Regions from separate parts of the Homo sapiens genome. Here region 2 is linked to region 1. The links are contacts of gene promoters, found by promoter capture Hi-C in blood cells and fetal thymus (Javierre and others, 2016). All regions are on one chromosome and are shown on one strand. Each heading gives the region's core, a stretch centred on a gene start or on the middle of the fragment in contact. The rest is flanking DNA. Distances are from core to core; before and after follow the strand shown.

The links. Contacts are between HindIII fragments. The CHiCAGO score rates a contact against its expected background, and 5 or more counts as called.
Region 2: the fragment with the promoter of SLC17A6 here is called in contact with the fragment with the promoter of SLC6A5 in region 1 in 1 of 17 cell types (M2 macrophages); the score reaches 5.8 in M2 macrophages.

Annotation. Positions count from the first base shown.
Region 1 is chr11:20,595,250-20,602,465 of GRCh38, forward strand. It overlaps SLC6A5 (solute carrier family 6 member 5), which reads left to right and starts at 4,359. Exons shown (of 16, transcript NM_004211.5): 1 at 4,359-4,426; 2 at 5,880-6,416. The coding sequence starts at 4,424. The HindIII fragment of the contact is 1,386 bases long and covers 3,641-5,026 here.
Region 2 is chr11:22,336,288-22,343,402 of GRCh38, forward strand. It overlaps SLC17A6 (solute carrier family 17 member 6), which reads left to right and starts at 2,094. Exons shown (of 12, transcript NM_020346.3): 1 at 2,094-2,332; 2 at 5,241-5,493; 3 at 6,960-7,078. The coding sequence starts at 2,247. SLC17A6-DT (SLC17A6 divergent transcript) reads right to left here and starts at 1,935. Exons shown (of 4, transcript NR_186351.1): 1 at 1,708-1,935. The HindIII fragment of the contact is 7,348 bases long and covers 1-4,419 here.

The DNA of each region.
Region 1 (7,216 bases), core at 3,109-5,608:
TACTTGATTATTGGGCGACCAAACACTGGATGAGGAGGGAAAATGTTGCACAATCATTACGTATTTTGTAAGGTTTTCTATTCTGCATAAGTCTACCCATATTAAACCTTCCGACCCAGGGAGAGGGATTTGTCTTATTTGCTAATTTTGAGAGGCTTCAAACATATGTTTCCTTTAGACTGAATAATATTGTTAACAATAGCTTATTGAAAGTATGCCGGGTAGCCAATCTCAATCTAGGCACTTCGCATGCGTTCTTTCGTTTAATCCTCAGGCCACCCTTGAGGTTAGGTTAATTTTTTTTTTTTTGAGACGGAGTCTCGCTGTCTCCCAGGCTGGAGTGCAATGGCGCCATCTTGGCTCACTGCAACCTCCGCCTCCCAGGTTCAAGCTGTTCTCCTGCCTCAGCCTCCTAAGTAGCTGGGACTACAGGTGCGTGCCACCATATTCAGCTAATTTTTTGTATTTTTAGTAGAGACGGGGTTTCACCATGTTAGCCAGGATGGTCTCGATCTCCTGATCTCATGATCCGCCTGTCTTGGCCTCCCAAAGTGCTAGGATTACAGGCGTGAGCCACTGCGCCGGCCGAGGTAGGTTAATTTTTATTATGCTCATTTTACTGATGGGGAATTTCCCCCAAGGTCACAGAGCTAGGAAGTGGTGCAGTGTGTCTGCAGAGCCCACATTCTTAGCACAGAACAACACTGCAATGGAGCTGGGCAGTAGTAGACAAGTGGGACAAAAATACGGCATGGCTTCTTGACTATCGGCCATGTCACCTGAAACCCACACTGAGCCCTCACATCCATCATCTATGGAAGTTGTAGGTGTTAACGACTCCCATGTTAAAATCACATAAACATAGACATAGGCGCTCATACTCTATCCCTCATGTGGTGGATGGAGAGGAGCCAACACAGACAGGGACTCAAAGCTAGGCTCTGCCCTCTGACCCTGGACACGTTCCTTCGCCTGTCAGTCGCACTGGCAGCTCTTTCTTGCATGCTGCCCTGAGGACCAGAGGAGGCTGGTGCCACAGTGCCCCGCTAACGCCAGAGCAATAGCTTGTAAAACACCGGTATCTTTCCCTCCTCTCTCCTTCCTTAGTGCAAAGGAGGGCAGCGACTTGAATGCGGTAGGCCGCCCTCTGGGCCCTCTCCTGTCTGGGTTGCAGCTGGCGTTTCGTGTCTTGGCAGTAACACTGGCGTCAGGACTGTCACCGGATGGCCTGTTTTTCAGAAGGCTACCCCCATACAACCGAGTGGACACGAGTTTTCAAAAATATTTATTTGCTTATCTGCAAGGCAGGAGAGGAGGGAACAAAGTGATCGAGGACAAAATCAATTACTATTTTTCATCTTTGACAAAGTAATTAAGGCCGTAGTGACTGGCTAATTCAGACCGAATGGCTGCGCGGTGATGGATGCGGATTTACGGCCTCCTTGGCTGCGGCGCGCTGGGCCTGATTATCACTATAAACAGGCGTCCGCGGAGGGCGGGGGCGGAGGCCCGCGTCTAGAGGACGTGCGGCTGGTCTTCTTCTTCTTCTTCTTCTTTTTTTTTGTTTTTGTTTTTTAATACTGCGGTTCCATCCTCTGCGCTTCGTAGGCGCTGACACACACCCATACGCACGACCTGCTGCCCCAGGGCCTGGCTTCCTGCCTCCGCATGCTCTCTCCCGCCCCTGAAGCCCAACCTTCAAGCCCTGCTGATGCCCGCCCCTCCGTCCCAGCGTTGGCCTCATAGCGAACCCTCTTAGGCCTCTCCGTTCCAGACCCTCCCTCCATTCTCCACGTAGCCCCTCCCTTCTAGAATCTTGCGGCTGAAAGTGGGGGCAGGCGGGGAGCCCGAATAGCGCCTCAGCCAAACCCCGCAGCCGTTCCTGCGCGTCACCCGCCTCTGCAGAGCCTGACGCGCGGCAGTCTCCACGCCGGAACCCAAGTGCTCACTGGGCCGGGGAGGGCCAGCGGGCGAAATATCAGGCCTGGGGGCTGAGCGGGGGCGCTGGGCGTCACTCAGGCCCAGGGCCGCAGCTGGGGGAAGTGAGAAGGCCGGCAGGATTCTGCCCACTCTGCGCAGTTCTCCCTTCCTCCCGGGGCAGCCAAGTCTGTGCGCCCTGGAACGTCCGGGCGCCGCGTAGACTCTCCATTCGCACCTGGCCCTTTGCGGGGGCTGCTCAAATGCAAATTGGGAAACTGGCCAGAACCTTCCAAAGTCGTGACTGTCCCTCGGGGAAGTCGGCCGGGGAACCGCAGAGGGAGGCCTACACCGATCTTTGGGCCCGCCTCGTGGTACCGCTCCGGCCGATCGCTCTCTGAGCCCGAGCCTGCCTGCCAGGCCTGCCTTCTACAGTTCTCGCATTCGTCTTGAGCCCTCTCGGAAACTGGGGACTGTTTAGGCAGAAACACTCGTAGGTCCCCTTGGCGTCCCCCAAGATGCCAAGAGCCTGCGGGGTGCTTCTCAGCGCCAGCCGGAACTTGAGCAGGCACCCCTGCGGAATTCTCAGTCCCACCCACTCAGACGACCCTCCTCCAGCCAGAGTCCACCACAGCCCACCCTACCCTCTTAACCCTCGTTCCCGACCTCTCCCTACGAGCGGGCCCCGGGGAGAGAGCGACTGACCCTAGCGACAGCCCGGCGGGAGGTGGTTGGGATCTTCTCCAGGGTTCAAAAGCGACTTTCTGAGCCCCAATTTCCTCAGCTTTGCAATTGGTATAGTTTCTGAAAGGCCATTGCTAAATCTAACCGAGATAATTCATGGATATCCCTTGCACAATGGTTGAGTATTGAGATCTCAATAGACGTTAGCTCAAAACTGCAATAAAAAGCGACCTGAAATCCTCAAGGCGTCTCAAAAGAAAGATCTCCTCCTCCTGCCCCCACCAAAGGCAATGCAGACCGTGTGTCCCCAGCCAGCTGCCCTTTAGAGGGGCTAGGCGGGAAAGCCAACCAGCGGAGGCATCCAAACACTCTCGGGCTCTCCAGAGGAGCAGGAGGGTGCCCCTTAGTGCCCCCGGCGCCCGCCGCAATCTGCCACTGCAGCCTACGCCTGCGGCCGCGGCCGCCGCGGCATTGTCCTCCCGCCGCGTGGGACGGCCCAGCCGCTGGCGACGGCGCGCACCCCGAGGCAGTGGGCTGGGCTGTTGGCAGTAGGGAAGGGAAAACGTGCTGTCTGTGGCTCCTCATCCCCGAGGCCAGGGGTTCCCCGAGCTAGACCGGCAAGGAAGGAGAGAAGGGAAGCATTTTGCTGATAATCCCCTTCTAGTCTCCAAACTACACCTTCTTTGTAAAGGCGTTTTTTCCTCTTCTGATTATAGCTATTGCATTGTACACACAACAAGAAAGTCCATCTTTTTATCGCCATGGCCACCCCCACTCCCATCCCCGCCACAGTACGGTTGAACATCCTGGCATGGCTTTGCAGATTGCCAGCTCTCATTCCCCCTCCCCCGCATTGCTGGGCATCCCGATTTGGACGGTCTCTAAGGTCCCGCGCTGCCAAATCAGGCCTGGCTCTTGTAGGATTTTATTGAAAGGACTGTAAAGAAAGAATGGGTTTCCCTTGACTTTGAAAGTGACCTAAGAACTAGGTCTGTGTTGGAAAAACTTCGTTTTTCTTTCTCTAAAACGTCTTCAGAAAAGCTTAAAAATACAATGAAAAAGGTCAGTTATACTCAGAATTTTCTCTTGATTGTGATAACAGAAATAGGAACGGAAATACCAGATCACAATTTTTAAGCAAAAACCCCAGGATTCCTCCAAGACTGACTGTCTGGAAGGGTAGGGATGTGAGAATCTGAAGTCCACATACATGCTAGGTAGGTACACCTTGATAAATGCAGGACCCATGCCTGCTTCAGTCATCGCAGAGCTGTGGGGCTATGCGCAGACCCTCAACCTCTTTCGGAGTAATATTTTCGGAATCCCTGAAGATAAGGGGGGACAGCAATGGAATCTAGTGAAAGGGAAAGAATAGACAGTGATTTAACCCCCTCCTTCCTCCTCTACAGCCCGATCCACTCTGTTGGCGGCTGCGCCTTGCCTTGGGTGCAGTGGGACGTGTCCCTCCCATGTTTCCCTTAATTAGGAGGAGGCAAACTTCTGTCTTCCCCTCCTGCCGGTTTCGGTTTAGTAATCAGACCACATGAGTCACGCCAAACACGCAGCCCCCTCCCGCTGGAGTGACAACTGGCCAGCATACTCTAGGCTGTTGTCCCTTTAAAACTTGAATCCAAGGGGGTAATGATTTATCAAACTTGTATTATCAAGAAAATGTCAAACCAAGGGCACCTTGCTTTGCACTGACGCAAACCCGGCCTTTCCCAAGGAGATATAGAAAGCGCCTCTCCTGCCTGAGCCAAACCCAGTCTTGTCAATAGCGGGTTTCACCCTCCACCAGTTCAGTCTGTTGCCTGTGTCAGACATGGTGAGTGTTTGCTTTTGTTCTTTCAAGAGGAAAGGGGGCTGAGGGGACAGGGAAAGCAGATTCGTTTTGGCTATTTCTTTTGGAGATGTCTGTGCATTGGGTGGGGGGAAAGGGGGCGACGAGGAGAACAATTCTCGCAGCCCTAGGTATTTGTACTTGTGAGCGTCACCTGAGGTCGCAAAGAGGTTTCCTAGGCTGTAGAGCTGAGAGGTTGGCTGTGGCTCCTAAAGACCCGATCCCGGGCACTGTCCTCGGTGCTGAAAAGCCAGATGCCGGTACAGAGGCGAGTTGCTCTGGGTCCTAGAGGCTACTGAGACAAATGCTGGCTGAAGCCGAGGTACCTAGATTTGTGCAAATCGAGGAGTTCTATTCTGCGTGTTTGTGAAAGGGGGTTAGACGAGAGGAGTGCGGTGGAGGCGAAGATAATAGGATTATTCTTACAGTGTAATAATAATTATTGGTGCTAATGTTTAGGAAGCCGTGAAAGATAACACGAGGGGAGAAAGTGGATAGAAAAACCACCGCTGGCAGTTCTTTTCATTTGAAAGTGAATTGGGAAAAAGCGAATAAAAATTAGTCATGAGTTTTGGTACTCAAGCAAGCTTAGAGTTGTGAAGGATATTAGACTCCTGTGAATAGTTACGCAAAAAAGAAGAAGAGGAAGAAGAAGAAGAAGAAGAAGAAGAAGAAGAAGAAGAAGAAGAAGAAGAAGAAGAAGAAGAAGAAGAAGAAGAAGACCTAAACAAAAGAACAAAAAGCTTTGCATATTCTTTTCCATGTCTGGGAATCTGGAAGTGAATACGAGTTGTGTAAGATAACAAATCTAGTTACTACTCTGTGTCTTAAATTTAGTTTATTATCGTTGTAGGTTTTTTTGTGGTTATTTTGATCGTGATTCTTAACCTTGTCTTTGCTACCTGGCGGGAGGAGGTGGGTTGTGGAGCGCTGGGACTCAACCAATTTGGCCTCAAGCGCTCGCAGGTGCCAGGGCATCAGCTTTGTGGCCACAGCTTGTCTATGGGGGAAAAAGGCAGTGTGCATTGTTGAATGACAAAGGAAATGGGGCGGAAAATTAAAGAATCTTTCTACAGTGGTGATGGGGATGCGGGCACCCACAGCTGTGATGTGGAATCCAAAGAGGGAGGGGAGCTCATGACTCCAGGGCTATTTCCATTCCCCCTTTACCCTTACAAAATTACATTTCTACCTCTTTTCTTAGTTCATCCTCCACTAGGGAGGGAATATTAGCTTCTTTTTGTCATCTGGTTATTGATGAAACGGGCAAATTGAGAAATACTGATTGCAGCCTTTCTTTTAAAAAAAGTTCAGATTCCAATTTGCTTCCCCAGATATTGTGTCTGGACCTGAGTTGCGAACGTCTCCATATCTAGATACAGGTATTTTAAAAGCTGTTGTGACTTTGTTTTGCACGAACTTGACATTGTGTTTGCAGGATTGCAGTGCTCCCAAGGAAATGAATAAACTGCCAGCCAACAGCCCGGAGGCGGCGGCGGCGCAGGGCCACCCGGATGGCCCATGCGCTCCCAGGACGAGCCCGGAGCAGGAGCTTCCCGCGGCTGCCGCCCCGCCGCCGCCACGTGTGCCCAGGTCCGCTTCCACCGGCGCCCAAACTTTCCAGTCAGCGGACGCGCGAGCCTGCGAGGCTGAGCGGCCAGGAGTGGGGTCTTGCAAACTCAGTAGCCCGCGGGCGCAGGCGGCCTCTGCAGCTCTGCGGGACTTGAGAGAGGCGCAAGGCGCGCAGGCCTCGCCCCCTCCCGGGAGCTCCGGGCCCGGCAACGCGCTGCACTGTAAGATCCCTTTTCTGCGAGGCCCGGAGGGGGATGCGAACGTGAGTGTGGGCAAGGGCACCCTGGAGCGGAACAATACCCCTGTTGTGGGCTGGGTGAACATGAGCCAGAGCACCGTGGTGCTGGCCACGGATGGAATCACGTCCGTGCTCCCGGGCAGCGTGGCCACCGTTGCCACCCAGGTAAGCAGGTTGCATTACGGCCCGCACAGTGTCCTGCTCTCCAGCTGCGCGAGAGAGGCCAGCCGGGCCGTGGCGGGTGCACGTATGCTGATGGGGAAACCGGTTGGCAGTGCCAGGTGATGGATGCGGGAGGCGGCTTTGGGGCTTCGGAAGCTCGCACTGCGCTGGGGTCGGCAGTTCAGGGCGCGAGGGCTGCAGTGACCCTGCCAGAGGGGCCACGACCTGCCCCTTCCCAGCCTTGGCGGTAGCGGGAATACAGGTCCAGATCCACGAAAGAGTTGAGGAAGATAGATTCCACCCTTTTATGCAGACAGACTCCCTCTCCTGCCAATGACTGTCTTTTCTTTTCAAAAATAATTTCTTAATTAAACAAAAAGAGGGTTAAAATTCAGAACAAAGCCACGTGGTGGTGGCTGGGGATGGAGGGGTAGGAGGATAATAGTTTAAGTTTTGTAGCCTTTACACTGCCAGTTACCTTTATTACATGAGAACTCATTTGATGCGAGGTGGGTTTACCTGAGGCTACTGAAGCTTTAGTTTTGGGGCCTGTCCTTTGCCTGGGTCCTTCCAAAACCTGGTGTCTACTTTTGCCATAATTTTCTATTTTTTTCCCTAAAGTAACCTCCCTCAATTGTATAAGCTTCAAGCCCCACCAATCTTAATCCCCTCTTGCATTTGATCCTTTACTACTTAATTAGAGGCGTGAAAAACCCACAGAGCAAATCCCAATCCTTGGGTTATGAATAAAGGCAGCTTTTGCTGGTGGCCCACTCTCTCATATAGGCTTTTGTTCTCTTCAA
Region 2 (7,115 bases), core at 844-3,343, 1.7 Mb after region 1:
GATATTTTGAAAACACCTAGATAAGTCAAGTCCTGAATAGCTTGAATCTTTTAATCTTTTTCTTTTCTTTTTTTTTTTGCAAGGAAATAGTTTAATGAGGGTTTTTTTTTTGTCTCCTTATACTTGATCTTGAGAAATAGATAGTATTCTGAGGCATCCCATGGTTTTAGAGAAAAATTAAATTCACTGTTTTATTGAAGATACATATTTTAACACAAATTTATCAAAAAAGATAAAAATGTCTTCATTATCCTTTTCTTTATTATATTTCACAATGGAAATAATTTGACAACTATCAAACTTAATAATGGCAGATGGTTTTAGCTACTTTGACATTTTTTTCCAGCTATCCATTCAGTGAATACATAGCCATTATATCATTTGAACTATTCAGGTAATATTCTTATTTGATTCTCAATTTAGATCCATATTTTTGAGATTTTGTCTCAGGATCCTAAGTAAAATTGACTCCCTCTGTTGGCTTATGTGACATCCAAGGTTTTGACCTTGAAAATGTGGTTCAAGGCCAGTCTGTTCTGTAAGCATTGGCCTGAATTGTACTTAAGAAGTTTGTGATTCATGTGAAAGAGATTAATAATTTACATTAATCTAGCAGTTTTCTTGCTTGCTTAATGAGATAAATTCATTGATGCTGTACCTGTATATATAAAGCCAAAACTCTTACATGAATGTCTTTCAAAATTTATGCTTTAGGAGAAGGACATACAAAGAAAAATAAAATAAGATTTGAATGGAATATATGTAAATTAAAATAAATCTTTTTAAAAATAAATCTTTAAATTATCAATTACAATTTGTTGGCAAGCACAAGGTATAGCCACATATTTCATCAGTATATTGGTATTTCAGTAGTGTATTGTAAATTAGTTAAATAAAGATGCTTAAAATTCCAAGGAATTTATATTAAATTAACTGTATTTTATTTAATCAACTTCACTGAGTTTATAGCTATTCTTTTTTCTTCTCTCCATACCTCCCACCTCTTTTTCTTTATCTCTCCTTTCCTCTATTCTTCATTCTCTCCCTTTCTTTCTTTCATCTTTTTCCTGTCAGGAGTTAAAACAAACACATGAACAATGTAATTATGTATTTTGTGTGCACATATTTTATATTCAAGGGAGCCTAGGTGTCTTGGAACACCACAAGCATAAGTTAAATATGTTGAAATCTTTCTTCCCTGCAATACTGGCATCAGCGTGCTGGACAAAACGTAGCAAACTAGAAGTAACTTGTGAATTTTTAATAAAGTTGTCTTCCCTAGCAGAGCTAAATGCACCATTCTCCCTGCAAACTCTGGAGATGATGACATCTTCCCAATGGTTTCCATAGCATCCGTTCCTGAAGAGCCCCCGTATGGTCCTTGGTCAGGGCGATCCGCCCAGCTCCCCTAGAAAGTTGGCAACCTAGCTAGCCAAAAGAAGAGTCCCCTATTCCTGAAACTTACTCTGTCCGTGGTGCTGAAACATTGTACCGAGACCCGCCCAGACGGGCGCTGTCAGCCGCTGAAAAAAAAAATCTTCCCCGAGGCTGCCCAAATCAGAACTGTGTATCTTTTATTTACTCACGTCCTCAAAGAGCAGCAAGCCTTCTCCATCTTAATTTGACTCTACCGCAGAGCAGACTTACGCTGGCGTGATGGGAGGAGATCATGGGCAGAGAGGAAAAACTAATAGCAGCATTGCTCACCTGAGACCTGAGATGCTCCCATGAGTTTTGAATATGCTCTGCTCCTTACAGCAAAGACACCATTTTTAAAAGTACCATTCTTTTGACTTTGCTGTTCCCAAGGCTTCTGTGATATTCCGGCCCCTCCGTTTAAAAGCCATCAGATTTGAGAGCAATAAGTCTTCAAAACCGGGAATTTACATTGTTTTTCAGCTGACCGACTTCCAGGAAAAGGACTCAACCGCATCTACCCAAATACCGTGGCACTGCTTGCGCTCTTTGCCACCGGATCCTCCCCTTCCAATGAGACTTTCTGATTGTGTCTACCAACTCTCCTATTAGGAAACCCGTGGGTTGCATGCAGCTATTCTGTTGTATTCTCATTCTCACTCTCCCTCCCTTCTCTCACTCTCACTCTTGCTGGAGGCGAGCCACTACCATTCTGCTGAGAAGGAAAAGCCCGCAACTACTTTAAGAGATTAAGACAATATGCGCAATCCTCGCCTTTCCTAGCAATCACTATTTAAATCTGGCAAGAACTGACAACAGTCTTTGCAAGAATGGAATCCGTAAAACAAAGGATTTTGGCCCCAGGAAAAGAGGGGCTAAAGAATTTTGCTGGAAAATCACTCGGCCAGATCTACAGGTAAGACAAAGCGAACACTTGCTTACCTGGGGCTCAGCATGAAAAAATCTGCAGGGCCGTTTCCGTAAACCCTGGTGGCTCAGAAAGATTGTAATATGATCGGAAAGTCTTTTTGTTGCCCATTGCTTGGAGCGGGGGTGCTCTGGAAACCTGCTTATTAATGCAGGAATGTTGCACTAAATGAACCTGTCTGGTGTGTGTGTGTGTGTGTGTGTGTGTGTGTGTGTGTGTGTTTGATTTTTGCTTTGGTGCCTGCAGAGTTTTTGTCCTTTACTACACAGGATTTATCTTCTTTACAGTTAAGAAATGGCCAGCCCCTGCTCAAACAGCGTTTCTTTTGGTGCTTATAGATACCCCGAATTAAATTCCTTTGATGCAGACAAATGAATATAAAACACAACCATCTAAAAAAATAACCAAGAAATTCCAAAGAGTAATGGTTTATATATATATATATGTTATATATATATGTTATATATATATGTTATATATATATGTTATATATATATGTTATATATATATGTTATATATAGTTATATATATATGTTATATATATATGTTTTATATATATATATATATATATATGTTAGAGAGAGAGAGAAAGAGAGAGGTCTCAGCTTCAAAAGCATAGTAGAGAATCCCCTAGTGAAATATGTCTTCTGTATTGAATGAAGAAGAATCAAAATATATCAATAATTGATAGTTGAAGCAATTCCTTTCTCTGAGCCTGAAACAATGTATATGCATTTTTAATTATTTTCATCTCCTAGAGTCTATTTCTTGCATAGGAAATGTCAATGCCTGGAAGAACAGCCATAAATATAACAAGCAACATTACTTTGAAAGTCCTAGAAATGATTTAATTATTTAATCCTCCTGTAGTCACTATACTAATTATGCTGTAATTTGCAAAACTTTAAATCATTTCAAGTATGTTATATGGATACAGCTTTTCTTAATAATTAGAGCAAAATCAAGACGACAGGGCAGACATAAAAGGAAAAAGAATTACAAAGGAGCACTAATTTTAATATTTGGGAAATTGAAGTCTCTGTAAATGCATGAGAAATGTAAAGAAAATGATCAAACCACTCCCAGATTTTCCAAATCTCTTCAGGTTTGGCGGGCTTCATGTAGGCACGATTATGCACCTATGCGGCAGTAGATACCGCAAGGGCCCTGCAGTCCCACAGCTACCATGGAAAGGGATGTTCTTTCCCAGTACAACTGCCATCCGGTGCAGAGCTCAACTTCGTATATTTGAGCACACGAAGCAAATGCAGGAAATGAAAAAAAAAAACCGCATTGGCTGAATTTTTTTCTCCCAGTAAAAATAAATTGCAATGTTTTCTAACATTGTGATCGGACTTTAAGAATAAACATTAACCTAGCCACAAATACCTTTATGACTTATTCTCCAGGTGCTACGTTATAGAATTCGGAAGCCTGACATTTTTCTTCGGGTGGCCTCAAACTTCTTGACAGCAGTATTCCAAGCTATGCATATTTGAAATTAGTTTAAAAATTTCACTTGCTTTACCCGTGTGTGTGAAAACAATTGGGTGTTCACATAGCACTTAAAACAGCACAGGTGAAAAGCAATTACACGGTAGATTGGAAAAAATATCTGCAAATTGTAAACGGAAAGGCTCTTTGTTTAAATATCGAAAGTATCAATCGCAAGGGGCTACGTACAGAGATGTTACCTTATACATTCCTTTTGTTTGTTTGTTGTTAATAGAAATTTCATGAATATGTTGTAGACTAGAACACTACCACCTTTTAGTAAAACCATTCCTTTTCTCTGCATTCCCCTTTTCATTTGTCCCTTCTCCCAAGGACCAAAGCCAAAAATGAATTGATGGTTGAAATCTTATGAAACACTATGCAAAAACAAATATTTAAGTGAGATCTTCCCCTTTGATGTGGAATATCTTACAAAAGTTGATTTGGGGGAGCCTTTGTATATCTGGGAGTCGCATTTTGCGTCTTGGGAAATGGACCCTTGACATTTTTCGGTGTTTGTAAGAGAGATAGTAATGACGCAAGATTGTGAATAATTAATTATTCATGTTCTGGCAGTAGGAAGCTTAGGTGTCGGCCATATGCTGTGGAGCCCTTTGTCTCCAACTCGAGTAATAAGAAAAAAAAAATAGTAAGAAGTGTAACAGGGGAGTAAGCATTGAACTAGAGCCCTGGGGCGGGATGAAGGGGAAGGAGAGTGCATGACACTCTCAGCGAGAGCTCTCAGGCCTTCTCCTCACGCACAGGCACTAGCCTAGAGAGGCCTTAGTCCAGGGGGTGCTCCAGGCTCAGCTCAGGGGGTGGATTGGGGAGCGGAATACCAGCATCGTCAACCTGGAAAGCTTCAACTTGCTAGAAACGGAAAAGGCAGCGCGGGTGGGAAAGGCTCTCTAGTTGGGCCCGCCTGCAGCGGAGCAGCTCTCTGGTGCTGTGTTGCAGGAGGACACCGCGGTAGTCAGGGTAAAGCCCTGCTGGGCGCGTGTAGGAGTGGGAGGCGCCTACTCAGGTGCAGAGGAGGCGCTGGTAACCCCTGCCCTCACAAAATGCAGACCCTGCAGATCCTGCAAGAAAGTTAGGCCCAAGCGGCCTGTGTATCTCAATCAGAGCGCCCAGGGGTGGATCCCGAGATGGGGACTCGCTACCTTAGGCCTAAAGGTGTTAAAGTTGAAGAGACGCCGCCGCCGCGGCCAAGGGCACCTGCAGAATGTGAGAGAGCCTGGGAGGTCTTGCAGCTTGGTGTCACCCCACCACCCTAATCCCCGAGGGTGGGGGGAGGTCGACGGCCCTCCTCCCAACCCCGACGGGTCCTGAAAAATGGGAATGGGTCAGCATCGGGGGTACCTAAGCCGCCAAGTCCTTGACTCGCCCCTGCTCTGCCGCGCAGGGTGCTGGAGAAGAAGCAAGACACCGGGGAGACAATCGAGCTGACGGAGGATGGGAAGCCCCTAGAGGTGCCCGAGAGGAAGGCGCCGCTGTGCGACTGCACGTGCTTCGGCCTGCCCCGCCGCTACATTATCGCCATCATGAGCGGCCTGGGCTTCTGCATCTCCTTCGGTATCCGCTGCAACCTGGGCGTGGCCATTGTGGACATGGTCAACAACAGCACCATCCACCGCGGGGGCAAGGTCATCAAGGAGGTGGGCAACGTCTGGCCGCCCTGGCTCCTGCCCTTCGGCCATGCGGCCTCGCAAAACCACATCTCCTGTTTGAGCCCCGTTCCCCCGCCACTGAGAGGAAGGTTTGGGTGCTCCCTAAGCTCCTCTCTGGCTCTGCCGTTCTAGAATGGACCCCAGTAGTGTTATCAGTTCCCTTTTCGCTCTGCTGTCTGGGCCTCCCCTTCCTCAACTGCAAAGTGGAAAAGAGGGTCTAGCTCACCAGGTTTTGTGAACTGTGACTTAATACAAGACGTTGGTGACTAGCAATGTCCACTAAGTCTAAATAGAAGTGTGTTTGTTTTACTTGGATGAATAGTGTAGCATATTAATTATAGTTTTCCCAGGACTTCAGTCCCAGCCAAAACATTCTTAATATTCACAATGAAACAAACTGGAAAACAAAATCAGCTGTGTTCATATCAGCAGGTTCAGCTGAGTGGTCTTTCGGAAGGTTTACCTCCCCCAGGAGGAGCCACAACGTAAGAGGGTCCCAGGGTGGCAGGGAGTCGCGCCCAGAGAGGGGAGGGTCACGTCAAGGTCACAGAACCCCTGGGTCCAGACTTCCTTCTTAGAAACCCCAGCTGCCGTAAACCAGACTAAGCAGGAGTTGAGTGGAGAAACTGGGGAAGACTCTTGGAATCCGGGAGACCTTGCAAGATCCTCTGGGTGTCAAAATATTATTTAAAGGGGAAAAAGGGTCCCCAGTTCTCAGGCGGGAAAAGCGCGCTCCCACCTTTCGGATGTAAATATTGAGCCCCAGTTTACCTTGAGGTTCCCCTCGGGGAGTCACCCAGGCTGCTCAGGGCGGAATTAGACCTCCCTTCAGAAATACCCCTGCCCCGTATTTATTAAAACCCCTGAGCAATGACTCCCTCTCCCTTTACTCCTCCCATTTCACCGACTACTCCAAACTCTTCAGGCCCATATCCGTCCCCATTTGTGGGGACACGCTTTCTCTTAGCCACTAAAAGCCCTGCACCTTTCACCATTTGCTCCCCACCTTCCTTCCTCAGAATTTCCCGATTTAAGTCTCCAGGGTTGGAAGTCACTACACTACTGTGTCTGCATTGGCCGGATTCGTTAAGTGGACCCCTGACAGGCGTCTCCACATCTGGCTAACAAATCTCTTCATGGGGAGTCCGAATTTCCAAGACGGGGGCCCTCTAGATTCCTCCTTCATTCAGATGATTCGATCTGCCTGACAGTAGTCAGGGAGCAAAGCCAGTGCGCCTGGCCTCACTATTAATCACAATACATTTTGTTAATGAGCAGGGTTTTTTCGTTGCAAGAGGCAATTTTGTTAGGAAACGAAAATGAAGCCACTCTTATCCCCAGAATGCATGAAGCGCCCAAGCCTTGGGGGCTTTTTGGCTTGTGAACCACTGAAAGTGAGCCTTTGGTACTGACTCTACTCTTTCCCTTCACACTTTTTTCCTACCCCTCCATAGAAAGCCAAATTCAACTGGGACCCGGAAACCGTGGGGATGATCCACGGTTCCTTCTTTTGGGGCTACATCATCACTCAGATTCCGGGAGGCTACATCGCGTCTCGGCTGGCAGCCAACAGGTAATGCGCCAGGCGGGACTGGGGCTCGGGGCGTGGT